Regions from separate parts of the Homo sapiens genome. Here region 2 is linked to region 1. The links are contacts of gene promoters, found by promoter capture Hi-C in blood cells and fetal thymus (Javierre and others, 2016). All regions are on one chromosome and are shown on one strand. Each heading gives the region's core, a stretch centred on a gene start or on the middle of the fragment in contact. The rest is flanking DNA. Distances are from core to core; before and after follow the strand shown.

Region 1 (2,700 bases), core at 111-2,610:
ATCCTTGAGCTCAGGAGTTGGACGCCAGCCTGGGCAACACAGCAAGGCCAGTCTCTTCAAAACAAAAGTGGGGTTTGGGGCTTCCAGGAGTGGTGGAGACAAGTTAAGAGAGGATAAGAGGAAAAAATGTCTAAGGTGAATAAAGGTTGACTTTTATGCAGATAAAAGTATCTCAGATGATACAAGTTGACTAGCAGCAGCTCTCTTTCTGGTAAGATTCCTTTAATTACGAAAATTTCCTTTAGAAATGTAAATTTCTCTTTACAAAGGAAGAGTTATTCTTTATTTTAGGCAGTAGTGGGATAAGTGAAGCATTTTCCTGTGTTGGCTGGATCTTAATTTATTTTGCTAAAAGACATCAATATGCCAGAGTGGCGTATTTTGGGGTGGCATATTCTGGACTCCTTCAGTTATAATTTGGGGTAGTGTGTCCTGAGCCCCAACACAATGAAATCAATCAACGTTCACCCTAACTAAAGGGGCTTTCTTAAACATTCTAGAACCTCACATCATGCATAGACCATAAAAAATCCTTTACAATTCAACCCAAAGGATCGTAAACGCGGCTTCCTCCAGGCACTTTTAATTGTCCTTAGACAGATGGCCAAAGCCTGGTTATGGGAACCGCATATGCTAAGAGAAAGCTGACTACAGCGCCAAGAAAATGATGATTGGCTGCTGGGGCTCAGAAGTTGCATGTTCTCCTCTGGCCAAGGCAGGCTCTAGGAAACTGCTGAAGGTTCAGTTTTTGAAATACGGTTTTTGCATCGTAAAGAAAAAAGATCAACCTATCAGGAAGAACCGAGCACATCCAATCACCAATCAAGAGCGGGAAAGAAGCCAAAGCCTGGGGATACCCACGCACCAACGAGGACGTCATTCTCCAGCCCCCGCCAATGAGCAGCGGGACGGGGGGCGGGGCAATAGGCGGACCCACTGCCCTAGAAAAGAAACAAGCTGCGGTACAACTGTCCTCACCAGCCCTCGCCTCCCGAGTCACTGCAGCCAACCCTTCAGCAAGGTGCTGATTTAATGCTTTCCATACTCTCTGCGTGGGGCTAGTTACAGTGAAGTATCCCCTTCCCACTAGAGTAAGGCACTTCTTTCCAGTGTCTCCCCGAGAACCGCAGAAAGCACACTGGAACTTCGAGCTTTCTACCTTCACAGGAACCGGGAGCCGTGCGCTACCTGAGGGGGAGGGGCGGCCCTGGTACGCAGGCGCGCATGCTTTGTGGGGGCGAGGCTGTGGTGGCCCGAGGTAACCTGGGAGCTGTATTTCTTACGCCGGCAAAACCGCCCAGGCCGCTGAGGCCTTCGCGACTTCATTTCCCAGGAGCCTCCGCGACCATGGGGCGGGCCAGTGAGTTCGCTAATGAGCTCGAGGAAGCCACGGCGCGGCCCACCAGGTTCCAAAACAAGGAAATGAAGGAGGGAGGCGGGACTGGGGGTGCCTGCGGGAGCCGCCGCCGCCGTCGCGGAGGAGGAGGAGGAAGAGGTGGAGGAGGTGGCTGCTGTGGCCGCCGAGGAGTCCCTTGCTGAAGGCGGACCGCGGAGCGGCGGGCGGCGGGCGGCGCGCGCGCGCGCGCGAGAGGCGGCTGTTGGAGAAGTGGAGCGGCGGTCGCGGGGGGAGGAGGAGGAGGGACTGAGCGGCGGCGGCCCCCGCGTCCCGTGCCTCTATGGGGGAAGCAGACAATGGATTATGATTTCAAGGCGAAGCTGGCGGCGGAGCGGGAGCGGGTGGAGGATTTGTTTGAGTACGAAGGGTGCAAAGTGGGACGCGGCACCTACGGTCACGTCTACAAGGCGAGGCGGAAAGATGGGTAAGAGCAGGGGCGGGAGGAGTAGGCTCGCTCGGGTCCTCGCCCTGCCCGCGACCTGGCGGGATGGGTGGGTCGGATCCCAGTCGGGCCGTGCCCGAGGGGCGAGGCGGAGGGGGTCGCGGGGTTGCGTCCGGACACCGACTCCGAGGGGCGCCCGTTCCGCCCGCCTCCCCCGCGCGGCCCCGTCGCGTACCTCGAACTCCCGCGGCGCAGCCCGGTCCGAGGCGTCGGTCCCGTCCCAGAGGGGCGCCCTCCGAGTGCTCGGAGACGGCGGGGGGACTCGAGTTGGGACCGCGGTGGAGGAGGAGTTTGTGGGGTCTAGTCTCTTGGGGGAACGCAGCGGGCAGGCAGAGCTCCGCTGCGGAGTTGCCGCTCCGGCCCTGGGTAGTGACGGTCGTTGTGGAACTTCCAATCGGCTGAGCGCCTCGCGGGGGCGGCGGTTTGAAACCTCGCCGGGGAGCCTGTCGGGCGAACGCGGCCTGGGGTCCTCGCCAGCCCCACGGCTCTGACCCGCTGGGCACCGCCGCCCCCAGCAGCGATCTCCGCCCTTCGGGCTGGCCGGCCCGTTGGCTTCTCTATGCAGTCCTCCCATCCCTGTTGTATGCCCGGCGTCCCGGGTTTCTCATTCTCACATTCTGAATTGCGTACCTTCCCCCTTCGAAGGAGACCTGATGGGCTAGCTGCGTTTCGCAAGCGGCAACTTAAGAGTTGGCTGAATTCTCTGCTACCCACCCTTTACCTTGCAGCCCCTTGGGTATCTTGGGTATTATGTCCTCCACTCCATCCTCTGCCAGATGACTGTGGGCTGGGGCTTATGGAGTACCTATATTATCAAGAACGGAATACGAAGTGACAGAGCTGGGCCTGAACCTTTGTTTTC
Region 2 (2,700 bases), core at 67-2,566, 660 kb before region 1:
AGTTGATATGGCCCTGTTCAGCCAAATTTCCGAATCATAAAGTGACATGCTAATAGGATATACTGTGGCATTTCTGTGTATTACAGCTTGTATGGTTTGAGTTACTTTTCCACACATAATTTTTTCTCCTCCACACAAGTCATTAAATATGTTTTCCTGAGAGATAGTCAAGCTTTGTTGTATAGGAAAGTTTCGTTTGTGGAAATAAATGAGTTTCACTGTAAGCTAATGTAATTCTATTACGTGAGGAAATGTTCCTTAAAAAATAAAGAATATTATATACTGTTGTTTTCCTGAATATTTTTTAAAAGACACATTAACTATTTCCTATTTAATCCTTCATGGACATCCCACAATAGATTACCAGCACCTTAAAAAAAAAAAAAAAAACAAAAACGAAAAAACCAAAGACTAAAAACCCCCATTGGGGTTTTTTTTTTGGTACATACTTTGAAATTTATATTTTAAATGAATTAAAAAGTAACACTTTTTATATGTACATTGAAAGACATAAAACTTGATACAGAGAAAGTCAAATTTTAAATTGTTAAGGATTATCAAATTGAATTTGCCATGTAGTTCACAGTTTCCAACAAAATGTTTGTTTCAACAAGAAAAAATTTGAAGTCATTGGCATACATTTAGAGTTTACACTTTTCATAAACCAAGCCAGCATTTTTATTAGCACGTCAGAAACTCCCAGTGAGATTAATATTAATTAAACATAATCAAAAACTGCAGAATTACCTGCTTTTGAATTATCTCCCCAAGGAAAACTAGTCCAATAAAATAAAACTTGAAAATTATTAATATAAAAGAGAGGCCAGTCTGACTTAGTAAAACTCTGAATGCTAGAATTTTTAATGAAGACAGATTTATTTGAAAGTAAAGATGTAAACATAATGCAAAGATATAAACATGGTTTGTATTATATCTTTATAGTTTATATCTTTACTAACAAGTAAAATAAGGTAATAAAAATGTGTAACACATGATAAACCTATGCTACATAAAATAGCATAAACATACTTTTTTCATATATAAGAATTACTTTGGGAGGTCCTTAATGCTTTACTTTGGTTTGGAGAGAAAATGTTTTAAAATTGACTTTGCTTTACAAATGAGATCCTGAAAAATAGCAACCAAAGATATTTTTTCTCAAATGAAGTGGCCGTTTCAAAATTATATTACAAATTCTGAACTGATTGGATTAATACCCTTTTACTAGTTTAGTTTTTCTATTATTGCCTGAAAAGCATTTTTCTGCTTTAGAAAACAGTCCAGTTGACTTTTGATTGTTCTGTGTTTTGAGGACGTATCTTGAGTAATTTAAGAAATAAAGTGTTTTGGGTTTAAAAGCTCCCATGTCTTAAGTTGGTGAAATTTGAAAAGGTATTTTTAAAAAGAGGGATATTCAGGGCTGGGTGCTGTGGCTCATGCCTGTAATCCCAACACTTTGGAAGACAGAGGCAGGAGGATCGCTTGAACCCAGGAGTTGGAGACCAGCCTGGGCGACATAGTCTGTACAAAACAAACAAACAAACAAACAAAATTGGCTGGGCGTGGTGGTGTGCACCTGTAGTACTAGCTATTTGGAAAGCTGAGACAGGAGAATCGCTTCAGCCCAGAAGGTTGAGGCTGCAGTGAGCCAAGATCACGCCACTGCACTCCAGCCTGGGCAACAGAGCAAGAGCCTGTCTTAAAAAAAAAAAAAAAAAAGGCGGGGGGGGATATTCAGATTTGAATGGTAAATCCTGACTGATTTAATCCCTTGCCAACTGAGGATATTGATTCCTAAGGGAATCACTTAAAGTTTCTTCATCTGAGTTATGGAATTTTTTAAAAAACAAAAACAAATTTCCTCTCCATTTTTTTAACTAGTTTTTAAAATGTCTTGAACATTATTTTGACATAATCAAATTGAGCAGTATCATTTGTAGAATAAATTGTTAATTTTTTCTTTTAGAACAACATTTTGGTAACTTGTTTTAATGGAGGGAAGAAAGGTTGTGAATAAAGTATAGGACAATGTTTTTTCATTTAGATTTGAATATAGGTGTGACCACTCAGAGGATTCACTACAAATGAAATCATCAGGCTTCATTTAAGGATTTGACTGAGGTGGACTTGGGAAGCTGTCCATTTTCCACATCTCGACTTTTGCTTAGTTGCTTGATGTAACTCACTTCATGCTGAGTTTAGACAGCTCTCACAGTTTCCTCAGCACCAGGTTAAACAGAACTATCCTTTCAAAGAGCTTCCCTGCTGAGATGCAGAGTAGGAGTAAATAGAAGAGTGTGGGATGTCCACAAAGCAAGGAATTAAACAAAGTAGGCCAGACAGACTATAGAGGGAGCTGCTTGTCTTTAAGATTACTCTAAGGAACTCTGCCACTTCCTCTAGCTTAGTGAATATTTTGGTAGATTGTTCTAGATACTGTTAGCCATGAAATCAAGCTTTTCAACATAAGGAATTGATAATTCTGAAATGCTATATAAGTTTATGTAGATGCTTATCCAATTATAAATATATTCTCATTGTTTATATTTTATAAAATTAAATATAAGAAACTACCAGAATAACCTTTTTTTTTTTTTTTGGTAAATTGGAGTTAAATTTGCAATAAGAATAATTTTGAAAATTAGCGTGTATCAACAACTCAGGTTCAAAAGTTTCTCTAATAGAATCTGCTTTGTTCAT

What was found. The method cuts DNA at HindIII sites, captures the fragments that hold promoters and counts their contacts. A CHiCAGO score of 5 or more calls a contact.
Region 2: a contact is called between a fragment that was not itself captured here and the fragment with the promoter of CDK19 in region 1, in 1 of 17 cell types (naive CD4 T cells). The highest score is 5.6, in naive CD4 T cells.

The regions. Positions count from the first base shown.
Region 1 is chr6:110,814,129-110,816,828 of GRCh38, reverse strand. CDK19 (cyclin dependent kinase 19) reads left to right here and starts at 1,360. Exons shown (of 13, transcript NM_015076.5): 1 at 1,360-1,820. The coding sequence starts at 1,693. It also overlaps a transcript of AMD1 not described here. RefSeq lists enhancers at 1,060-1,139, 1,713-2,265, 2,500-2,609 and a silencer at 1,780-2,089. The HindIII fragment of the contact is 5,084 bases long and covers 1-2,700 here.
Region 2 is chr6:111,478,529-111,481,228 of GRCh38, reverse strand. The region is part of intron 1 of REV3L (REV3 like, DNA directed polymerase zeta catalytic subunit); the gene reads left to right. Among named protein-coding and RNA genes, the nearest start is that of REV3L, 3.3 kb to the left of the region's middle. RefSeq lists an enhancer at 1,863-2,587. The HindIII fragment of the contact is 2,284 bases long and covers 175-2,458 here.